Regions from separate parts of the Homo sapiens genome. Here region 1 is linked to region 2. The links are contacts of gene promoters, found by promoter capture Hi-C in blood cells and fetal thymus (Javierre and others, 2016). All regions are on one chromosome and are shown on one strand. The core of a region is centred on a gene start or on the middle of the fragment in contact, and the rest is flanking DNA. Distances in the headings are between cores, read along the strand shown. Region 1 overlaps LOC105373421 (a long non-coding RNA gene). Region 2 holds the start of GRHL1 (grainyhead like transcription factor 1).

The links. Contacts are between HindIII fragments. The CHiCAGO score rates a contact against its expected background, and 5 or more counts as called.
Region 1: a contact is called between a fragment that was not itself captured here and the fragment with the promoter of GRHL1 in region 2, in 1 of 17 cell types (endothelial precursors). The highest score is 5.5, in endothelial precursors.

What each region holds. Positions count from the first base shown.
Region 1 is chr2:9,807,978-9,814,014 of GRCh38, reverse strand. It overlaps LOC105373421 (a long non-coding RNA gene), which reads left to right. Exons shown (of 3, transcript XR_007086206.1): 2 at 3,868-6,037. Among named protein-coding and RNA genes, the nearest start is that of TAF1B, 32 kb to the left of the region's middle. RefSeq lists an enhancer at 4,073-4,573. The HindIII fragment of the contact is 2,463 bases long and covers 48-2,510 here.
Region 2 is chr2:9,946,852-9,952,942 of GRCh38, reverse strand. It overlaps GRHL1 (grainyhead like transcription factor 1), which reads right to left and starts at 1,250. Exons shown (of 16, transcript NM_198182.3): 1 at 1,090-1,250. The coding sequence starts at 1,109. It overlaps LOC105373422 (a long non-coding RNA gene), which reads left to right and starts at 2,090. Exons shown (of 3, transcript XR_922784.4): 1 at 2,090-2,238. RefSeq lists silencers at 960-1,499, 1,590-1,639, 1,740-1,789, 1,940-2,019. The HindIII fragment of the contact is 14,804 bases long and covers 1-6,091 here.

The DNA of each region.
Region 1 (6,037 bases), core at 30-2,529, 140 kb after region 2:
GGTGGCACCGCGCCTCCATCGCGCTGAACGCTGCTGATTCCAAAGCTTCGGGGCTCAGGGTCTCTGATGGGAAGACCTCACTCTTTCAGCCTGTGTGTCCTGGCTTCCCAGGCCATGGCAGTGCTGGGGCACTTAAAGTACCTTTGGGCCTCCACACAGACTTCTAACTCAGGGTGGACAGAGGAGAGAGCATTCTGGAACCTGCTGGGCTGTCCCAACCCCATCCCCTGGGAGTTTCAGCACAGGATGCACTGGGACTGGCCAGGCCTTTGGAGGAAGGGCGTGCCCGGGGGTGAGACCACAGCCCCCACTCGCCACGGCACCCAGGGGTTCCCAGGGAGCCTGGGCAGCCTGTTGGCCAGAGCTTGGGATGGAGGCGTCCCTGGGGAAGGGAGAAGCCAGGCAGCTGGAGTCTTTGCTTCCAGGAGAACCACTGGCAGCCTTCCTGTGGGTGCTGTCCTGGGATCGGGACTGGGCCTGGGTAGCATGCGTCCTGCCAGAGAGGAGATGTGGGCAGAGTTTGGCCAGGCCACTCAGGCATCCCTTTCCTGTGGGCGGGTGGGCTTCCCTTCCTGAGCCCCAGACGTGCGAGATCATTGCCAGGACTTTCTGCCAGCAGCCATGGCAGTGATAGGACACTGAAAGCACCTTTGGGCCCCCACCAGGATGGTGGACAGGGGTCCTTGCCACCCCCTCCTCCCCCACGCTCCCCCCACAGCACTGTCTGTTCCCTGGACGCTGTGCTGAACCTCTGCTCCAGTGCTCGTCTTGGCTCCAGCCTCATAGAATCGCCTTCCCTTTCTTCCCAACCAGCTTCTTCAGCTCGTCTTGGCTCCAGCCTCATAGAATCGCATTCCCTTTCTTCCCAACCAGCTTCTTCAGCTTCTTCTTTCTTCTTCTTCTTCTTCCTCTTCCTCCTCGTCTTCCTCCTCTTCCTCTTCTTCTTCTTCCTTTTTCTGAGATGGAGTTTCACTCTTGTCGCCCAGGCTGGAGTGCAATGGTGCCATCTGGGCTCACCGCAACCTCTGCCTCCCGGGTTCAAGTGATTCTCCTGCCTCAGTCTCCTGAGTAGTTGGAATTACAAGTGCCCGCCACCACGCCCAGCTAGTTTTTGTATTTTTAGTAGAGACGGGGTTTCACCATGTTGGCCAGGCTGGTCTCGAACTCCTGACCTCAAGTGATCCGCCCACCTCTGTGTCCCAAAGTGCTGGGATTACAGGCATGAGCCACCGTGCCTGGCCTTCCATCTAGCTTTGATTCACCTCAACAAACGTTTTCCAATTCCCATGCCCTGGGCCTGGGCGACCTGAATCCGTTCCAGCCCTGTGAGCTTATGGTGATGCTGGAGAAGTCAGGCGGGTAAACAGATCCTATCAGTGAAACTGCCCTTCCCTGAGTCAGCCTAAGCCCCACTTCCTCTAGGAAACCGTCCCTGCCCCACTGTGCACAGTTGGTTTGTTTGAGAGCAGGGAGACGCCCAGCTCCAGTGGGGGCTCAACAATGCTGCCCTAGCCAGGGAGCAGACACCTCACTGCTGCCATGTGTGGAAAGTCAGGGGCAGGGGACTTCTCTGGGGTCTGGTCTGGGCCCCTATGTGTGGCCCCTCGCTAATTTCAGGCCCAAGTGGCTGGGGCAGGCACAGGGCCCTGAGAGTCTGGGGGCAGCTTCTCCGAGCTCTCAGGCTGTGAGGGCCTGAGCGGCCAGCCCTTCTCCAGGGCAGCACTGGGAAGGGTTCACAGGCTTGCCAGGTTAAGGCCCGCCACCTGCGATAATGGCCCGGATTTGGATTCTGCTACTACAAGCATAAACATGTGACAGGAGGAGGCCAACAGCGGCTAACAGAGCAGTGGCGCCCGGAGCATCTGCCGGGAACCAGCAGGACACACAGGAGGGGGACACCGGGGCTCCCGGGGGGAACTGGCCCGGCCGCCGGGGCAGGATAACAGGACTGAAACGGGTCTGCCGGTTCTCTCTGGCCAGCTGCAGGACTTCCCACCCTTTTCCCAGTCAGGGAGTGTGTGATACTGCGCCACTGCCACAGAGCACAGACTGGGGTGGCTGAGACTCCGCCATTTACTCCCTCACAGTTTGGGAGCCAGGAGGTCCAAAATCAAGACAGGGGCAGGGCCAGGCCCTCTGATATTCTGGGCAGAATCCTGCCTGCCTTTCCAGCCGCTGGCCTGGCCGGGAGCCCCCGGTGTCCTGGCCTGCAGCGGCAGTGCCTCGGCCTCTGCCTGTCCCCACGAGGCGTCTCCCTGTGTGTCACTGTCCTCATGTACCATTGTCTTCCTCTTATAAGGACAGTTGTATTGGATGACAGTCCGTCCTAATGGCCTCATCTGAACTTGATTACTCTGCAAAGATTCAGTTTCCAAATAGGTTCACCTTCACAAGTACTGGGGTCAGGACAAAAACATCTCTTTTTGGGGGGCACAATTCAACCCTGAACGGGGGAGAAACTGAGCTTTGGTGAGATGAGGGGCAGAGCCTGGCACTACGAGTTCCAAGCTTGACGTTTCTTTCCAGTCCTGAGTTTTAGCTTAAAAATTCTTGCATTTCTGCATTATTCTCTATTCTGAGTCATGTTTGCTTTAACAGGAAATACAGTATGATTTCTTCAAATCTTTGCCACTTCAACATGAAGAAACGTGTTTATCCTGTGGCTCCAAAATCTTCAATGTGTTTCTGAATTTTCTCAAGGGAATTTCTCCCCAATTAGAAAAGTATAAACCAACCTGGATTCATGTAGTTCTCATAAAAATCCAGGCTAGGCACGATGGCTCAGGCCTGTAATCCCAGCACTTTGGGAGGCTGAGGCAGGTGGATAACCTGAGGTCAGGAGTTCTAGGGCAGCTTGGCCAACATAATGAAACCCCATCTCTACTAAAAATACAAAAATCAGCCAGGCGTGGTGCACGTGCCTGTAATCCCAGCTACTCGGGAGGCTGAGGCTGGAGAAATGTTTGAACTCAGGAGGCGGAGGTTGCAGTGAGCGGAGATCACACCACTGCACGCTAGCCTGGCCGACAGAGCGAGACCCCATCTCATAAAAACAAACAAACAAACAAGCAAACAACAACCCAGTGAAGTATGCATAGTTAACAGAAGAGGAAATCGAGAGGTTAATCTGCTAAGGTCATACCTCATAGGTATAGGATAGGTATACGTAGGGGAGTCCACGTGAGAATTCAGTTCTTTTTTGGCTTATTGATCAGGTTAGGGTTTTGTTTTTTTTTTTGGAGTCTTGCTCTGTCGCCAGGCTGGAGTGCAATGGCACAATCTCGGCTCACTGCAACCCCCGTCTCCTGGGTTCAAGCGATTCTCCTGCCTCAGCCTCCCCAGTAGCTGGGATTACAGGCATGTGCCACCATGCCCAGCAAATTTTTGTATTTTTAGTAGAGACGGGGTTTCATCATGTTGGTCAGGATGGTCTCCTGACCTCGTGATCTGCCCGCCTTGGCCTCCCAAAGTGCTGGGATTATAGGCGTGAGACAACGCGCCCGGCCTGTTTTGTTTTTTACCATAAGTGCATGATGAGGGGAGATGAGGAAAGGGGAAGAGAGAGAGAGCACTGTGACCATCCCCTAGCCCAGGAGAGAGATTTGTATGCCTGTTGTGAAAAGCAGGGATGGGAATTCTGAAATAAAAACACAGTTGGACAGTTTCCCACGGAGTGGTAACATAAACCCACCCAGGCCAACCATATTCAAGTGCTGTCTATCTACCCAAACGCCCATGTCAGAAATGCCCTCCGGTGCTTCCATGTAGAAGGGAGAGAAGCACTTTTACATTTTAGTTCTGCTTGTTATTTGGAAGTTATTTTAAAGGTCATTGAAGTGGGCTTTTTGTTGTTGTTGTTGTTAACAGACAGCTGTTTCCAGCCACTGCTATGAACCCATCTAAGTGAAATTGTGAGGACTAAGGAGAGAGGCACCCATGACTGCCTTAATCCACTCCTACCCATCGTCTCTTCACCCATCCACCCATCCTTGCTGCAGACCTTTACTGGGCACCTGTGCCAGGAGACCATCACTGCCCATCAGAAGCTCATACAGGGAGAAGCAGTGGCCACAGCAGAAGGCGTCCCGGGTCCTAGAGAGCACCTGGAGAACAAGGGAGAGCTGCAGAAACCGCCCTGTCTGCATGTGTGCCCTCATGTTCTTGGGTGCATGTCTGTGTTTGTGTGTGTGTTTGCTTATGTGCATGTGCAGTGTGTGTGTGTTCGAGACAGAGCGAGACTGAGAGTGCAAGTGGGTGTAAGCACACACACCCACCCGTCAGCCCTGCCTGTCTGCTCAGAGTTTTGCCTGTCACCCGGCCACGCCCTGTGACCCCCCTCCTCGGCTGGGTGCAGCCAGGACACCTGTTGCCAGCTGCGAGCACCTGCCTGGTTGCTGCGCCCGTGTCCTGTGCATGTTCCAAGCCAGCCCCCTGGGGTAATCCAGGCCATGACTCAGGAACGTCATGTTGGGACACCCGAGACCCCCAGCCCCTGCCCTAGGGGTCAGGGCAGCAGGTCCCATCTCCCTTAGCTGGGCTGGGCCCAGGCAGCCTGTATCACTGTTTGCTCCAGAGGCTGGGTGCGTCCTGCTTGGGGGCTGTGTGAGGCCCGCTTGTTTTCACCCACAGATTCCCAGGGTTCTCAAGGCAGAGGAAAGCGACAATTAGGGCAACACCCATGTTGGTTGGATCAGAGTGAATCCCAGGCCTGCTTGGGAGGCTTTAGGCACTCAGCTCGGCCATCTCTGAGGGTAAGGGCATGTCAGCCACTCTGCTGGGGCATCTCTGTGCTCAGCACCATGTGGGCTCATCACAGACACAAGAGTGCGTCCTCTCAGAGGGAATGGTCTGGCAGGTTTTGCCTGTTTTCCTGCTCACAGGTTGAATTTCTTGGCCAGCATCCCATAGCCAGGCCAGAGCGGAGCAGGGCTGCCTGCTGCACCCAGTGGCTTCTTGTCAATCTCGGCCTCTCGTTCCCTGCCTGGGAGAGGGTCTCAGTGTGAAGGGCAGAGGGGTCTTCTGGAACCAGCCAGTGCTGTGTCGGAGAGAAAGACCAGGAGGAAATTGGAGGGGTACAGGCCTGAAACTCTCCCGCTGCCTTGCCAGGCACCCAAACCTGCTTGACCTGAGTGTCTTTCCGGCGGCGGGTGGGGGGGAGGGGGGTGGGGCGTGCTGCATCGCTTACTTTGCCTGTGTCTTAGGGGAGCCTACCCATTGCCCTCCAGCACCGGCGAACAAAGACCCCCACGGTGGCCAGGCCTGTGCGGGGTGTAAACAGTGTCCCAGGGTGTCTTGGTGTCCTCACTACTACATCCTCCACGTTCCAGAGGAGAAACTGAGGCCCGAGGACACCCAGAATTTCCCAGGGTCACACCAAGGGGAAACAGGTGACGTTGAAGTGGACACAGGGTGATGAGAGGGGTGCAGAAAAGGAGATACCCTGGCATGCCAAGCCTGGGGCTGGTTGTCCACATCCAGGAAGGTCCCTGCAAGGTTGTGGCACCTTTTCATGGCAAGCAGACGCAGCACCATGAATACCCACAGCCACTCCTAAGGGCCCCTTCATGCGGTGGCTGTGCCCAGCACTGGGCACGCAGGAACCAAGGCCCAGAGAGTTCTGGGTGGGTGGGGAGAGCTAGAGCCTTCCTTCTGGGCTCCAGGGCTTTTCAGTAGCACCACTGGCTTTCTAGAAGGTTGCTGTGTGATTGGAAACTTGTGCTTTGAGATACGATTATCTGTGTGGGGAGGAGGTTGTACTGGAGTCAGCAGTGAGGGGTGGCAGCACTAGGCCAGAAATGGATGTGGGGTCCTCTTGCGTGGAGCTGCCACTCCCCCAGCCACTCTGTCCTTACAACCAAAACCCCAAAAGGGGGCTGAGCCGGCCCTTGTGAGTGAGAGTAGAGGAGAAGGAAGGGGCTGTGGGGGGAGAGAAGCACATGGAGCTGGCCCACGTGGAGAGAGGGACCCTGGGTGGCAGGGTGGCGTTGGGGGAGATTTGCCATCAGAGTGACCTTAGTGACTGTGCCACCTCGACCCT
Region 2 (6,091 bases), core at 1-2,500:
TGAAATATGTTTCAGGCAATAATTTAACTGCATATTCTACAACATAAGAGTAATCCATTTAAGATACTCCATACAAAATATCTATCTCATCCAGAAAAAGAACACACTGACAAAAACCGATCCTTCACAAATAACTAAGAAACTGGGAGGGGTACCTATCTGCCTTAAACTTCCTGATCTGAAATATACTGACTGGCCTGGTGCGATTTCCCTGTTTTTTCTTTAGTAAGTTTTTAAAATTTTTAGGACAATTTTATATTTTCAGAAAAGCTGCAAAGAAAATACAGAAAACTCCCTCGCCCAGTTAATCCCCCATGCCTTATTACACTACCACCTCACATTTGTCGAAATACGCTTTTAAATCACACACTCTAAAAAGCATATTAGCTTGTACAGTACTTTCTCGTTTAACACCCGGATTTCAAAGTTTCATCCTCTTGATTCTCTCGAGCACTAAAAACACGGTAATCTGTAATTACCATCAATGATGCAAGTGGCAAAATAACTCCTACAGCCGTTTTCCCACTCATGCCGCCAGCCAGGGAAAAGAAAACGCCCGGACATCGGGGCACTTCAACCTTTCCCTACATTTCTGTTTTGGAGGTTCCAGCAGGTCGCCGAGTGACGAGCCTGAGACCACAGATTACCTGGAGAAGTCCACCTGTCCCGACGCGGCGCGAGCCCCACCAGGCTCCCGAGGCCGACCGGGCAGGAGAGGGGGGCGGGGAGGCCCGGGGGCGTTGGCTGCGCCCCGACCTCGCGCCGCACCCGACCGCGCCGGGGGCCCGGACCCCAAGGTGCGCGCCCGAGGGGACCCAACCTGGCCGCGGAGGAGGGGAGGAGGGTGGCCCCTCCGGTGTCGAGTTTCCCCGAGGACAGGGTCTCTCCTCCCGAGGCTCCGACCGAACAAAGAGCACGGCAGGGCTAAGGGGCAAAGGCCGTGGCGGCGTGGAGTGGACAGCGGCCCCCGGCTCGCGCCCCGCGCCCGCCCGCCCGCGCGGCCTCGGGTCTGCGCCCGGCTCGCTCGCTGCAGGTGCGGCCCCTCAGCGCGGCCCCCCCGCGGCGGCCGGACTCCTGCGCCTCACTCACTTGTCGTACTCCTGTGTCATCGCGCCCGCTCGCCGCTGCCGGGCCGCAGAACTGGACTTTCGGGTTGGGACAGTACACCCGATCCGGGGGGAGGAGGCGGCGGCGGCGGCTGCGGGTCCGGAGCGGCGGCCCCGACGGGTTGGGTTTGCTTTTCTCGCTCTGAGCCGGCTCCGCGCGGGCTGCGCGCACTGGGCGCCGGGCTCGGCCGCTCATTGGCTGGCGATGCGCCGGCTGGGGGCGAGGCCTCGGGGCTGGGAGGCCGGTCGCGCCTCCTGATTGGTCGGCGAGAAGAGCGCCGGGGCGGGGCTGACGGGGACGAGCGGCGCGGGGCGGGGGGCGGGGGCCGCGCGTTCCGCGAGGTTGCGCCCGGGACTGCGCTCCCGGGGCTGCGCGCCCGACTCGCGGCCGTACGCGCCTGCCCTGACAGGAGAGGGAGCGCTGCGGCTGCGGCGCGCACCCGCCAACCTCCGCGCGCACCGAGAGCGCCCCCGCTCGCGCCCCGCCACCGCCCCCGCCGCCCCCGCCGTCCCCGCCGTCCCCGGCCATCCCCTTCGCGACGAGCCCCGGCCGTACAGCCGCCTCCTTCTTCGCTCACTCAGGCCTCCGCGCCCCGTGCCCACATTGCCCGCTGTTCCGGCCCCAGCGCCCCGCGCTGCCCCTGCGCTCGCCCGGCGGGGGCGCCTCTGCCGGTCGCCGCGCTCCCCGGTCGCGCGTCTCACCTCTCGGTTCTCGCAGGCTGTCACGCCCGAGTCCCGTGGCTTCCCCCGAGAGCCGTCTCCGGAATGTCCCTTCTCCTGGCCCACCGCGGCCGCGCGCTTTTAGGATTTCTTGCCCTCGCAGCTCCCGCGGTCCCCTCGGCGGCAGTCCCTGGGGCTCCGCGATGTCTGTGCCCCGCAGCCTCCCGGGCGCCACTTCCCCGCGCGGCCGCCCCACGCTGCCCGTGCAGTCGCGCGCCCCGGGCCGGCCCCGGGCACCACTCCACCGCGACGGCCCCCACTTGTCCTTCCCGAGCTGCCGTCTTTCCCAGGGTCCGCTCACTGAGTCCCCACATGCCCAGCGTCGGACCTGACCCTCGGACAGGCGCGGCCCCAGACGCCGGGGACAGGGCAGTCAACAGAACAGACACAACTCCTCGCCTTCCTAGTTGGGGTAACGGGCAATACAAAAACAAGTAAATGGTGTGGCTGGTTGGAAGGTAAAGCAGGCAGGCCCTGGGGAGGCGGGGAGGAGCGAGGCTTTCAGGCTTGAAGGAGATGAGGGGCCACGAAGGTGGGACTGTACCTGAGGCAGGGACCCTGGTGTGTTTTGTGACCCTTGAGGAGACCCGGGTGGCTGGTGGGGCACAGGGAGGCGGGAGCTGCGGTCAGAGATAGTGGGCGCAGGGGAGCGGATTGAGCAGGGCCTTGCCGGCTTCCGTAAGGACTGTGGCTTTCCCTCTGGGCTAGGTGGGGACGCCTTGGAGGGGCTTGGAGCAGGGTAGTGACAGGGTCTCACATTTTAAAATAGTTCTCTGCTGCTGCGTGGTGGGGACCAGGTAGGAGGCCATTGCCATGATGCAGGCCGAGGGCAATAGAGTGAGGTGGTGGGAAGTGGCCGAATTCTGGATATGCTTTGAAGGTGGGACCAGCAGGATTGTCTGAAAATTGGATATGGGGTGTGAGAGAAAGAGAGAATCAAGGATGACTACAGCGTTTCCAGCTGGGCAACTGGAGGAATGATTTGCCATCCCCTGGGATACAGAAGACCTGGGGCATAGAAGATTTGGGGGAGAACGAGAGTCTGTTTTGGACGTGCTAAGCTCAAGATGTATGGGAGATAAAAATCCATGAATCAGGTGGGCTCCTGGGTACGAGGCTGGAGTGCAAGGGAGAAGTCTGGGCTGAAGCTCACATCTGGGCGCCGCCCACGTCTAGAGGCCATTTAAAGCCATGAGAAGGCAGGAAGGAAAGAGGATGGGACCCATGCTGGATCCAGGAGCCTCCGACACAGAAAGGCTGGGAGGAAGAGCCAGTGGAGGAGACAGAAGACGGGGACACCGAGGTCGGAAGCAATGGAAGCGTGGAAGCCAAGGGAAGGAGGTGAAGTGAGGAGCAGCATGAGGTCACAGGGCCCTCCTGCAGCCAGCAGTCCCTCCTCTGTGCCCTGGTCCAAGGCCTTCAGGGACCGGAATCGGCAGCCTCACTTGAGACCGCCCTTCGCAGTTTCTGTCCTCTGACCCCGGGCCCAGCACTGGATCCATGCAGCCTGTTGTTTGTTCTTACCACTAGTTTCCTGTTTAAATCATTTATTATTTTTTTCTTTTCCTTTTTTTTTTTTTTTTTTTTTTTGAGGCGGAATCTCCCTCTGTTGCCCAGGCTGGAGTGCAGTGCCGTGATCTCAGCTTACTGCAACCTCTGCCTCCTGGGTTCAAGCGACTCTCCTGCCTCAGCCTCCCAAGTAGCTAGGATCACAGGCGCCCACCACCACGCTCGGCTAATTTTTCTATTTTTAGTAGAGATGGGGTTTCACTAAGTTGACCAGGCAGGTCTCAAACTCCTGACCTCAGGCAATCTGCCCGCCTCGGCCTCTCAAAGTGCTGGGATTACAGGCATGAGTCACCGCGCCCTGCCAAATCAATTATGTTTTCTAAGCACGCTAATTTAAGAAAAATGCTAGTCAATAACAGCACAGATGGTCCCAAATAGGGTACAAGTCATCAGGGTGGTGCCAAAGTGACTGACTTGGGAACAGTGTCCCTCTACCTGCCTTTCTTCTATTTCCTCTGACCCGGCTCCACACTGCCACTGGAGTGGCCTTTATAAAACACAGATTTCTTGTCACTCAGTTATACTCACCATAAAGTCCACACTCCTGAGCTCAGCCTCCCCTTGGCGGCCCAGCACTTCCCTTACTGCTCACTCCCAAGCACCGTCCCCGCATTCCCTGCTCCTTCCCTCCATGCTTGGCCCACTCCACTCAACTTCCAGCCTGGCTCATTTCCTCCAGGTGGCCTTCCCAACCCTCTAGGCTGGACAAGGTGTCCTGTGGGATCCACAGCGCCTTCTGCATTGCCCATCACCATGTTTGTCTTATGGGCTTTCCTGTTTGTGTCTGTCTCCACCAAGTGTGAGCTTTTCCAGAGAGGGCAGCGGTTGTACCACCTTCATTTTTATGTTCCTGGTGCCTGGTATATACATAGAAAATATCCAGCAAATGTCTACTGAATGGATGCAGTCCTCTGCAGGCATGCGTTCTGCGCCCAGTCTCCTCCCTTCTGTAGCATAGCTAGGGCTCTTTTAAATGACCCCCCCCACCGTTGCAGAAGATGAAAGTCCTTGAGCCTAATACATGGTAGGCACAAAATAAATAGGGGATGAATGAAGAAATATCCAATCATAAAGCCAAAAACAAGAACAGGAAGAGCCTGAGGTTATTAGACCATAGCTGTAGTAATTAAAAACATTGGGTCTATTTTGTCAATTTGAATATGGGATTGTTTAGTTTGTCTCTAATAGCTCTCTAAAACAGAAATGAAAATCTCTATCTATGACCTGTTGCCATGAACCCTGTTTATTTCATTTTATTTTATCTGAGACAGGGTCTCACTGTGTTACTCAGGCTGGAGTGCAGTGGCACCATCACAGCTCACCGCAGCCTTGACTTCCCAGGCTCAAGTGATTCTCCCACCTCAGCCTCCTGAGTAGCTGGGGCTACACGTGCACACCACCACACCTGGCTAGTGTGTATGTGTGTGTGTGTGTATGTTTTGTAGAGACAGGGTCTCACCATATTGCCCAGGCTGGTCTTGAACTCCTGTGCTCCAACGATCCTCCCATCCTCCCAGCCTCCCAAAGTGCTGGGATTACAGATGTGAACCACCATGCCTGGCCTACCCTCTTCATTTTTAAGTTCTTTACTATTTGTTTAAATTATTAAAGTAATATATGCACATAGTTTTTATGGAAGAAAAAATGCTGGGCGTGCTGGCTCACGCCTGTAATCCCAGAGCTTTGGGAGGCCGATGTGGGCAGATCACCTGAGGTCAGGGGTTTGAGACCAGCCTGGCCAACATGGTGAAACCCCATCTCTAACAAAAATACAAAAATTAGCCGGGCATGGTGGTGGGTATCTGTATTCCCAGCTACTCGGGAGGCTGAGGCAGGAGAATCGCTTGAACCCAGAAGGCGGAGGTTGCAGTGAGCCAAGATCGCGCCACTGCACTCCAGCCTGGGTGACAACAAGACTCCATCTCAAAAATAAAAAAAGATAGAAAGGGATTAGGAACGGGACAAAGAAAGGAGAAAGGAAGAAATTGAAGCTCTGCAGAAGGATACAGAATGCAGTCCCTGGCCTCCTCCATTCCCAGCCCCTAATCCTTGAGACAACCACTGTGAACAATTTGTGTTGATCTTTCCAGATATCTTCTGTCTGTACAAGCACTCACATGGTTTATTTTCTTAGACAAATGGGATTCGGACTGCACAATCTTCCACAGCTTGCTTGTTTTTCCTTTCTATGGTTTAAACATTTTCCACATCAGCACATAGAAATCTAGTTCACTTTAAAAAATGGCTGTATGGTGTTTCCTTGAATGGCTATATGATAACTTGAATGTATTGGTGAGCAATTAGGGTTTTTTCCCCTAGCTTTTCTTAATTACAAACATTCACAATAACACATTCCTCTAACTACATTTTTGCACACTTGATCAGGTATTGCCATAGGATAAATTCCTAGAATCGGAGTTACTGAGAAAAGGGAATGCACAGCTGCCATTTGGTTTTTTGTTTGTTTGTTTTTTGAGATGGAGTTTGGCTCTTGTTGCCCAGGCTGGAATGCAGTGATGCAATCTCTGCTCACTGCAACCTCCACGTCCCGGGTTCAAGTGATTCTCAAGCCTCAGCCTCCAGAGTAGCTGGGATTACCAGTACCTGCCACCACACCCGGCTAATTTTTGTATTATTAGTAGAGATGGTGTTTTGCCATGTTAGCCAGGCTGGTCTCACACTCCTGACCTCAGGTG